Linked DNA regions of Homo sapiens: region 2 is linked to region 1. The links are contacts of gene promoters, found by promoter capture Hi-C in human tissues and cell types (Jung and others, 2019). All regions are on one chromosome and are shown on one strand. Each heading gives the region's core, a stretch centred on a gene start or on the middle of the fragment in contact. The rest is flanking DNA. Distances are from core to core; before and after follow the strand shown.

The links. Contacts are between HindIII fragments. The study calls those that stand out against the background at their distance.
Region 2: a fragment that was not itself captured here is called in contact with the fragment with the promoter of TCERG1L in region 1 in 3 of the 25 tissues and cell types used here (H1 embryonic stem cells, mesendoderm cells and thymus).

What each region holds. Positions count from the first base shown.
Region 1 is chr10:131,309,437-131,315,092 of GRCh38, forward strand. TCERG1L (transcription elongation regulator 1 like) reads right to left here and starts at 2,285. Exons shown (of 12, transcript NM_174937.4): 1 at 1,858-2,285. The coding sequence starts at 2,199. LOC101927461 (a long non-coding RNA gene) reads left to right here and starts at 2,420. Exons shown (of 3, transcript XR_242763.6): 1 at 2,420-2,838; 2 at 4,698-4,843; 3 at 5,220-5,656. The HindIII fragment of the contact is 8,672 bases long and covers 1-5,656 here.
Region 2 is chr10:131,469,177-131,474,832 of GRCh38, forward strand. No RefSeq gene overlaps it. Among named protein-coding and RNA genes, the nearest start is that of TCERG1L, 160 kb to the left of the region's middle. The HindIII fragment of the contact is 6,268 bases long and covers 1-5,656 here.

The DNA of each region.
Region 1 (5,656 bases), core at 1,035-3,534:
AGAAAAACTATAAGTATGTACCAATCAAAGAAAAAATTATAGAAGTTTTCATATCTGAATCATCACAAAGCATTACCAACATTGCATTCTTCAATACTGAAAAAGAACTTCTAAGCACAAAACCACAAGCACGCAGTAAGAAATGGGTTTCTGCTCTGAGATAATGAGAAATCACCATGAAGAAGAGAAATGCTGGGTATTCCTTTTCTAATTCTTAAATTATTTTTATAGGCAGGCTTAGGGCTATATTTTATAATATTCCTTTCAGCATTGCATTTTGTATTAATTACTTTTGTCGTTTTACAAATAACTAATACTTTCAAAATGAAAATATCTAGGAAGTTAAGATTCCAAGTTTCACCAATACAAGGTTCACCAATACAAATAGATTCTATGGCAAAAAAAAAAAAAAAAAAAAAAAAACTAAGCATCTTCTAAGTTGAAGATCTCAATACACAGAATAAAACATCAGTCATGGAAAGGGGCTGGTAATTCAGGGCACCGTCTCTCTAATTAAAATAACTGAGACCTCATAAGGCACTAATAAAATGCATTGCTCAATGACATGGAACGTTTCAGTACCTATTGTTTTAAAATCGTAAAAGCATTTGTGATGTTCCTGTTACATGAAAATGTTCTTCTGGTTGTACATATTCTTACTTTACAGAAGCTGGGTAGCACAAAAATATTTAAAAGATTAATGCTAAGGTTTTTTAAATTTTCTTTTAAATTTATATAAGTGAAAAAATGCAGTTTTTTAAAGCAGAATTTAAAAAATGTAGTTCCTTGACATTATATACCTCTAGTGGCAGCACTCTGATATAACACCCCTCCAAAATACGGCAAAAACTACCAACGTTTCTTGAATAAAATCCAAAATAAACTGCATCACACATAAAAATACAATATCCAGTGCTGCATATGTGATGTATCATTAAGTCTAAAGACCAATTTAGCAGGAGTTTAACAACATCTTTTAGAAAAGCTCACAAGATAATATTGGAATTAAATTAATCAAATGGTGTATTCTAACATAACACCCGTTTGAATATGCTAATGAGGTCAATCCTTGGAATAAAATGCACGCTATTCCCTGATTTAAATGCATCTGCATAGTTAGCTGACAATGAATCTTGCCCAAACCAGCCCGCCTAGCTCTGCTGCACCATTTATCAAAGGTTCAGTCACTTTTTCTTTTTAATCCCATGTCTTAAAAGCCAAACTCTAGTTCTAAAGTGCAGTGTGGCATTAGCGAATGTGGTGGACTCCGGCAGGCCTGGGGCAGGGGAATCTCCGGTAACATCCCTCAGTACCGAAGGCAGGATTTCCCGGCCACTTCCGTCGGTTGGAATTCTCTTAAGCATTGCCCTGAGTCTATTTTCAAATGAAAGGGGGAAAAACCCAAACCAGATTAGAATCTGAAACAGCTGAAACAGCTATCGATTTCCAGCTTGCTTTCAAGTCTGGCAGAGACTGTGAAAGTCCTAACTTCTCCGCGATGTCAGCCACGGCCCGCGGCGGTCACGGAGCCACTTCAGCACCTCGCGATGGACAGTGACCCCCGGCGTGGCGCGAGTTCCCTGCGGTCCCCACGCGGGCCTGGGCGGCGGGTCCCTCCACGGCTCCGTCCAGACACCCGGAGGCACCTGCCAAAGCTGCGGAGGTGGACGACCGGGCGTCCAAGCACGAACTTTCTCGCCGAGGCACGGCTGCCGGGCTCCGTCCTGAGGGTTTGGGGCGGCGAGGACCGCCGGGGAGGAGGGCGCGCGAGCCGGAGGCCAGAGCCGGGCCGGGCAGGGCGCGCCCAGGAGCAGGGGAGACGGCGACCCGGGCCGAGGCGGGACGGGGACACGTTACCTGCCCGTGGAGCGCGGGGAAGGGGTGCGCGGCGGCGGCGGCGGCGGAGTCTGGCGCAGAGGGCAGCGGCAGCAGCGGGAGCACCGGCTCGCTCGGGGCCGGCCAGCCGGGGAGACCGGGGAGCAGCGGGGCCGCGGGCGGCGGGGCCGAGGCGAGCAGCACCGGGGGAACCACGACCCCCGCGCTGAGCCGGAGCAGCCCGGCCGAGCCCGGCACCATCCAGACCCAGGGCGGCGGCGGCGGCGGCTCTGCGTCCATCGGCCAGAGGAGAGGCTGCCGCCGCCGGGGCTGCTGCTGCTGCAGCTGCCGCCGCCGCCGCTGGAACCTGGCGCCCGCCTGCATCCTACATCCCCGCGCTGACGGCGGCGGCGGGGGCGGCGGGCGCCCGAGATGCTGGGCCGGCGGCGGCGCGGCTCCGGAGCGAACTCACTTGGCTCCGCGGCGCGGCCGCTCGCTCCGCCCCTGCCCCGCGCGGGAAGCTCCTCCTCCTCCCGCCCGCGCCGCCGCCGCCCCCGGACCCGGCCCCCGCCCCGGTCCCCGCCCGCCCGCGCCCCTCCCCGCCGGACCCCGCCCCGCCCTCGCGCTCCCCGGCCCTGGCCGGGGTCTCCTCCCCGCTGCGCCCCTGGACCCGGGCGGCCGCGGAGGACGTGGGTGGGAGAGGGCCGAGGGCGCGCCCGGCTGGGCTCCCGCCGATGCCGGCCCCCTGGTGGCCTCTGGCCCTCTGGGACCCAGCGCACCGCGAGGGAGGCTCCGGGCTCCGCACTCAAGGGCAAGCGGAAGCCGAGGTGGCGGCGCCGGAGCCAGGCATGTCCCGCTGCCCAGCGCGGGGCTGAGGGCGCAGACGGGGACCGCGCGAGCCGCTCTCTACCTGGCCTCCTCGGAGTCCAGGGCGCGGAGGGTACTGGGCTGCGGATCCGGCGCAGGCGGCCCCGGACGCTGCTAGGCGCGGGCGGATTTCTGTTGCACAAATGGGCCAAACAGGTTCGTAAGGCCCCCGCGGGTCCCCTGGCCCGGAAGTTGAGCCGCGGGTGCCTGGTCTGAAGTTCCGCGCCCCACAGTGGCCCGCGGGCCTCGGCGGCTCCTGCCCTACGCCCTCCAAGGCACCAGGCAGGTGGCCCCAGGGCCTTTGCCCACGACACCCCCTGGGTGGGGCAGGACCACCCCTCTGTGAATTCGTCCTGGATGCCCCCAGGCACAGTCTGTACTCCTCCCTCCCCCAGCACACGCGGCCTCTGACGCTGCACGCCGAGCTTCCTGGGACCCAGGACGAACCGGGCTCCAAGGACCCTCGCTCCGCCCGGACCACACGCAGGCAGCGCCGGCCGAGCCGAGCCTGGGTCCGCACTGGCCACGCGCAGCCACCGCCAGACGGCGCTAGCCCTCCCCCGCTGTAGACCCTGCTTCGGAGGCCGCCAGCCTCCTCCCCATCCCGGGTCCACAGCTTCAGTGCAGCCCCTGGCGACGCGCGCTGACAGCTGGGCAGAGACTTCCGTGCGCTGTAAACCCCTTAGGTCGCTAAACCCAGGAAACCCAAGCACAGCTAATGCCAGCGCGAGACCAGTGTTGTTAGAGGCATTTGAAGGGTCTTTCTGGATGCAAAAGGCAGCATTATGATCCATGCATTTAAGAACTTGCATGAAAAACCCTCCCTGACCTGGGTGGGAGAGCAGGCACCCACCCACCCAGCGGCACTGACACGCCTGGTACTCCAAACCCGTGTTCGCATCACCTCCCACCTGTCCACTGCCAACCTCCTGAGATGGCCTAAAGCACCCGAGTGCTTTTAATTTGCGTCTAGGGTTGTTTCCTCATTATCCTGATTTGCTTAATTTCCTCTTGGCCTGGCCTGATTTCTTTTAGATCTGGGCATATGCTGATTTACATAGCTGGCGCCTCCATATTTTCCTCCACGAAAACCAGTTTTCAATTAGCAAGTTTATCTCTCTCTTTGATGCAAAAGTACTGGCATTTTTTTTATTCACCTAAAATCAGAAAGCTCTGCACATTAGAAGGCTGTTACTATTCACTTACACCCTTAATTTATGTGCATATATTAGTATGTGCACATGTGTTATAAATGTGTTAGTTTAATGGTCAGAGCCAGATCAGGATATTGGGGAGGCGTCTCCAGGCAGGCTCACATGCCCCTGCCACCCCCCACCTCCCCCACCGCATAGTCCCTTTTGCACAGGAGATTCTCCTTCCTTCTGCTTGGAGGCAGAGACAGAAGGCCAGGGGTGCTCGTGCCTGGCTTGCATGCTGTTCTCTGCAAAAGCAGGGTTTTGCGTGTGTGGCCCCCAGGTTCCTGGGAAGGTAGGGTTGGCCACAGTCTGTGGGAGCTGTAGCACTCCTTTGGGGAATCCCAGCCCCATCCCCACTGTCCTAGAAAGGGTTCTGCTGAAGTCCGTTTTTGCCAGCACCCCTCCGGGCTTCCTGATGCTCTGAGCTCAGGACCCCTTGAGCCACTACTTGGCTCTGAAGAAGAGCTGGAAAGTCGAAAGCAGCTCTTGACTCAACCACAAAGCGGCCTAAACTCTTGCTATTTCCTGCCACAAGCTTGACTCTCCTTTTGTATGACAATGCTTGGGAGCCCTTTTCTGTACCATTCTGTGTGCTAAATTATGGGAAAACAGCCCTCAACGACGCAGGCACGGCCATTTCCACTAATCGTTGCTAGGGCCAAGGACCCAGCACAGGGCTTCTCCCCCTCCTCCTGGCTCTCATTTCTGTCAGATTCTTTTCAAGGTTTGCCTCTCATCCCGTTTAACCCGGGAACCTTCTACACCCTCATGGATAGGAGAAGCCCCCTCATAGATACACTCATTTCAATGATTGTTTAGAAGGACCGCCTCCATGAACCGGTTCTGCAAATGTCATTTGTACATCTTGAGGATGGTTGAAAGAGCGAAGGCAAAGAAGATGCAAAGAAGACAGCTGTCACACAAACAAGCAGGATGCCACCTTCTTCCTGGGGACCAGAAGCCAGGTGAATGTCTAGCTTTGAGCTGGGACTCTCTGCCAGAGAGATGTGTGCTGGCAGGCACATCTCCCTCCCTGTGAGTGCCCCCAGAGGTCAGCCCTGGGCAGACAGGTGGCAGGCACCCCATAAACTCGCCCTTTGTTTCCCTGTAAAAATCAGTGAGAAATTTGCTTTATAAAGCATCTTAGGTACAGTCTAGTCTCCAGCTCTCCTATCCAATAAAAACAACCTTAAGTCTTTCCATGTTATTTGGGCAAAACCAGCAGAAATTTCCTGCTAAGCTGAGACAGGATATCACCTAGGAAGAGGAGATCCGCAGCAGGGAAAACGTGTGAATTACCTACATGTGCTAATGAGTTCCCGATTGTTTATTACCTTTCAGGAAAAAATCATGGGGAAGGTTTCAGAGACATCAGTGGAATAAGATTTTGAAGCCCATAGAATATTTTTTTCTTTTTGGAAGTTATTTTATTTTGTTTTTCTAAGTAAAACCTAATAGAATCCCAAAATGGGAGAGATGAAAACATTTCCTTCCAGCCCTGCAGAGTTAAAGTAAACAGCAGGGAAACAGGAGGGAGGTCTAGGCCCTGCATATCACCTCGGAGGTTCCCTGCACCACCCACCGCCCACGCTGCCAGAACTTCTTTCCAAAGCAATTGCCAATCAGACCAACTCCTTTCTGAACACTCGCCAGCTGCGCGATGATGAGGCCCTGAATGAAAGCCGTGCCAGCGAGGACCCAGAGAAGGAATCAGCAGTGTGACACCTGACTCAGTGCAGGGTGAGGAGCAGGAGGGTGTGAGAGTGGCTCCCCCTGTT
Region 2 (5,656 bases), core at 1,437-3,936, 160 kb after region 1:
TGTGTTCTCAGGGATTTGGTCCATTTTAAATGGGATTTCAAATTTGTGGGTATAGAGTTGTTCATAGCATTTTTAAAATCATTCTTTTAATTCCCATAGGATCTGTAGTGATATCTCTCTTTCTTTTCTGATATTAGAAGTTTGTGTCCTCTCTCTATTTTGGTTTTGTTGATTTTCTCTGTCCATTTCCTGTTTTCAATTTTATTGATCTCAGCTTTAATTTTTAACCACTTTTTTCTGCTGCTTACTTTGGATTTTACTTGCTCTTCTTTACTTGTTTCTTAAGTTGGACACTTAAATTGTTGATTTTAGATCTTTCTCTTTTTCTAATATATGAATTCAATGCTATGAATTTCCTTCTAAAAACTCCTTTCACTGCATCACAGTTTTGGTATGTTGTGTTTTCATTTTTATTTTGTTTAAACATTTCTAAATTTCTCTTAAGCTTTCTTTTTTTACTCACATGTTAAGATGCCAATTATTTCCAGGTTATTGCTGGTGTTGCTGAGTTCACCTATGTCTTTACTGATTTTTCTGCCCCTTGGAACTGTCCATTTCTGACAGAGGGTGTTGAAGTCCACAACAGTGTGTTCATCTATTTTTCCATGCAGTTCTATTAGCTTTTGCCTCATTGGCTTGACTCCGTTCTTAATCACGTTAAGGATTGTTAGATATACTTGGGGAACTGATACCTTTATCATTATGTAATGCCCTGTTTATTTCTGGTAGCTTTCCTAGCTTATTCTGTCTGCATTAATACATCTTCTACTTTCTTTTCATTGGTTGTAGCATGGCATATATTTCCCCCATCCATTTACTTTTAATCTATACGTTTCTTTTAAGTTAAAGTGGGTTTCTTATAGATAACATGTAGTTGGGTCTTGCTTTTTCATTCACTCTGATAATCTTTGTCTTTCAATGGGTGCATTTGGACCATTGACATTCAAAGTAATGATTGATATAGTTGGATTAATATCTACCATACTTGATATTGTTTTTTATTTGTTGCCTTTATACCTTGCTCCTATTTTTGTCTTCCACTCTTTTCTAACCTTTTAGTTGATTTTGATTGAGATTTTATATAATTCCATTTTCTCTCCTTTCTTATCAGGTCAATCACATTCTTTTTTTTAACCTTTTTTTTAGTAGTTTTTCTAGAGTTTGCAATATAGATTTACAACTAATCTAAGCCCACTTTTGAAAAACACTACACCACTTCACAGGTAACGTGAGTACCTTAAAACAACCAAATAAGCCTAATTACCCCTCAGTCCCTGTGTCATTGCTGTCATTCATTTCATTGATATATCAGCAGACATAAATGTGTGTGTGCAAATATATATAAAACATTAAATACATACATGAACATACATGATCAAATGCATTGTTGCTGTTATTATTTTGAACACATTTACCTATCAATCAGGTCAATTAAGGTTATGAAAAATCAAAGCTTCCATTTTACCTTCACTTCTTCCTTTCTCAGAGCTTTTTTTTTTTTTTTTTTTTTGACGGAATTTTGCTCTTGTTGCCTAGGCTGGAGTGCAGTGGCATGATCTTGGCTCACTGCAACCTCTGCCTCCTGGGTTCAAGCGATTCTCCTGCCTCAGCTTCCCCAGTAGCTAGGACTACAAGCATGCACCACTATGCCCGGCTAATTTTGTATTTTTAGTAGAGACGGGGTTTCAACATGTTGGCCAGGCTGGTCTCGAACTCCTGACCTCAGAGGATCCACCCACCTAGGCTTCCCAAAGTGCTAGGATTACAGGAGTGAGCCACTACACCTGGCCCTCTTTGTTTTTCTAATGCAGATCTGAGATTCTGGCCTTTTTATTCTCCTTCTCTCTAAAGGATCTTTTAAAATATTTTTTGTAAGACGGGTCTACTGTCAACAAATTCCCTCAATTTTTGTTTGTCTGAGAAAGTCTTTATTTCTCCCTCACTTTTGAAGGGTAATTCTGCAGGGTACAGATTTCTGTGCCGGGGTGTTTTTTCCTCTAAATACTTCAAATATTTCACTGCACTCTCTTCTTGCTTACTTGGTTTCTGAGAAGAAGACAGAATTAATTCTCATCTTTTTTCCTCTACAGGTAAAGTGTTGGGTTTTTTTCCTCCCTTTAGCTTTTTTCAGGACTTTTTTTTAATCCTTGCTTTTCTGTGTTTGAAAATAGCATGTCTAGGTGTAGGCTTGGGGTCACAGACCCTGCTTGGTGAGCTACACTTCATGGATAGGTAGTTTGGTGTCTGATATTAATTTGTGGAAGTTCTCAGACGCTATTGTTTCCAGTATTTCTTCTCTTCCTTCTCTCTTTCTTCTCTTGCTGATATTCTCATTAATCTTTGTTACACCTTTCGTGGCTGTCCCACAGCCCTTTGATACTATGGTCTGTTCTTTTCATTCTTTGTTCTTTTTGCTTTTCAGTTTCCAGAGTTTCTATGGGTGTGTCCTCGAGCTCACACGGTCGTTCCTCAGCGGCGTCCAGTCTACTAATAAGCCCTGCTCATTTCTGCCCCTGCATTTTTATCTCTTCTGTTTCTTTTTCCTTCTTTCTTAGGACTTCTATCTCTCTGCTAAAATTGCCCATCTGTTCTTAAGTGCTGCCTGTTTTACCCATCAGAGCCCTTAGCATTTTAATCATACTCATATTCACGGGAACAAAACCAAACTCTGTAAAATATTTTAAGAGGTTGATTCTGAGCCAAGATACAAGTGACCTTGGCCTGGGGTCCTCAGAATGTGTGCCCGAGGCAGTCGAGTAACAGATTGGTTTTATACATTGTAGGGAGCCAAGAAATGTGGGTAAAATCACAAATCAATACATGAAATGTGTACGTTGGTTCAGCCTAAAGAGGCAAAGATTCTTGAAGTTCTTGGTGGGGGAAGGCTTACAGGTCATAGGTGGATTCAAAGATTTTCTAAATGGCAGTTGGTTTAAAAAGTGAAACTTTGTCTAAAGACTTGACGTCAGTAAAAGAAATGCTTGAGTTAAGGTAAGGGGGGCCATGGAGGCCAAGGTTCGTGTTAAGTTGACGAAGCCTCAGTGGTGGCAGCCCTCCGAGAGGATAGAAGGTCAGTGTCTCTTTTTGGATCTTGAAAGGCGACAGACTCTCAGTTAATCTCTCCTAGATCTGGGAAGGCCTGGCTGCATTAATGGAGATTCTTTGGAGATGGCAAAATTTCCCCCACAAATGACAGCTTTGAAGGGCCATTTCAAAATATGTGAAAGAAATACATTACATTTCGGAGTAAAATGCTTTGATTTCTTTCAGGGCCTGCTGTCTGACATGTGATGCTATACCAGAGTCAGTTTGGAAATTGGTATCTGATTGCTACAAGTCTGTTTTGTCAGCCTAGTGCTCTCCACTTTAAAGTTAGTGCTGGTCATGTTCCTAAACTCCAAAAGGGAGCGGGTATAATGAGACATGCATGACCTCCTGACCTCCTGACCTCCCAACCTCCCGACCTCCCTTCCTATCACGGTCAGGAATTCCATTTTTCACGTTTCTCTGAGGTCCCCTTGGCCCTGAGAGGGTCTGTCCAGTTGGTCGGGGGCTTAAGATTTTATTTTTGGTTTACAGTTTTATTTATTTATTTATTATTTTTTGAGATGGCATCTCACTGTGTGGCCCAGGGTGGAGTGCAATGATGCAATTTTGACTCACTGTAACCTCCACCTCCCGGGTCGGAGTGATTCTCCTGACTCCTCCCGAGTAGCTGGGATTACAGGCATGCATCGCCATGCCCAGCTATTTATTTTTAGTTTTAGTTTTGTTTTTTGTATTTTTATTAGAGACGGGGTTTCACCATGTTGGCCAGGCTGGTCTTGAACTCTTGGCCTCAAATGATCCACCCGCCTCAGCCCCCCAAAGTGCTGGGGTTACAGACGTGAGCCACTGCGCTCGGCCACAGTTGTTTTAAATTCACTGTCTGATCATTCTAAAATCTCTGCCATGTCTGGTTTTGTCTCTCCAAATTGTGCTTTTTTGCCTTTTAATATGCCTTATAATTTTTTTGATATGCAGACACAATGCGCCAAATGCAAGAAACTTCCATACGGACCTTGGTGATGTGGCGGTGCGGCGCTGGGTAGGGGAGAGCAGCCTATAGTCCTGCGAGTAGGTCTCCGGCTTCCCGAGAGCCTGTGTCTCACTTCACAAGCACACGCCTCTGTTGTCCCTCCCAGCTTAGATGGGACAGAACAGCCTCAGTGGGCTGAGCTGGGTATTTCCCTTCCCTTGGGGAAGACCGTGACATGTGGAAGGTGACCTTGTGTTTCAGAGGTCGGGAGGCCAGATCAAGGGGTGTCTACTCCAGAAAGATCACCACGAACTTCTGAACAATGAGGTCCCATGACTGAGCCTGTGCCGAGCACAGAGGCAACTGGTGGTGGTCATGCTGCCGATGGACAGATGATGCTGGGGCCTGGGAGCGACTCTGGGGGAGGCCACAGGGCAGGTGCTTGTCTCCAGGGCATGGAGCCAGGAAGTCTTCCCACCGGAGGCCACCAGCAGAGGAGAGCATTTCCTTCCATTCCTGGTGGCTCCAGCTGTCCCCATCCCGAATACAGAATGATTGTCTGTCCCAAAGCACCTCCGGAACCCGGCACAGGTGCCACTGAGCCAGGCGGTGCCCCAGCGCAGCTCTCTCATTCCATGAGGTTCCGCTTCACAGCCCCAGGTAAGCCCAGTGCTGAGAGGCTGCTGCCTCCCACCTGAAAGAAGGAGCAGCCCAGCCCCAGCCGCAGGGGCACAGGGATGGCAGGGATGGCAGGGCTGGAGGGAGGCTCCGCAATGGCAGTGAGAAGTGGCCTCTCTGTCCAGGGACTTCAGCGGGCTCCATATGTTCTCCAGGTCTTGGCACCTAGTGACTCAGGACACCCAGCAGCTGAGGACATGGCCACCGGCCCTCTGGGTGTGCAGAGCTTGTTGGCAGAGCCACACCAAGATGGCCCAGGCAGAGTCCACACTGTGCAGGCCGGGCTTGGGTGTGCAGGGAACTCTGAGGACCCTTCCAGATGCTCCAACCGAAGGACACACACGCCCCTCCCCCAACCCAACCCCCACCCATACCCCTCCCCCTCCCAGCCCACGTGTGCCCTCCCTGCACACACGCAGCCTGTGGCTCTGCCTCAAAGGCCCTCTCAGAGCAGGGCTGGAACAGGTGTGCTGAGTTTTCTCCAGCAGGAAACAAAGGAGAGCGTCTTGGGAATTCTGGAATTACAAACACACCCAGGGGGCTCCAAGAGGGGTGCATGGGCCCTGGACAAATGCTCGAGGGGCAGCAGCAGGGTAGAGGCAGCATCCCGGGGTCCTCAGGTCCCAACTTCAGCAGCTGGAGCCAGAATCAGCATCCTCAAATGCCCTTTGTGTTAGTCAGGGTTCTCTAGAGGGCCAAGACTAATTGGATGGGTGGATGTGTGAAGGGGAGCTTACTAAGGAGTACTGAGTCACACAATCACAACGGGAAGTCCCACAATGGGCTGTCTGCAAGCTGAGGAGCGGGGAAGCCAGTCCGAGTACCAAAACCTCAAAAGTAAGGAAGCTGGCAGTGCAGCCTTCAGTCTGTGGCCGAAGGTCCAAGAGACCAAAAGCTGAAGAACCTGGAGCCTGATGTCTGAGGGCAGGAAGCATCCAGCATGGGAGGAAGATGAAGGCT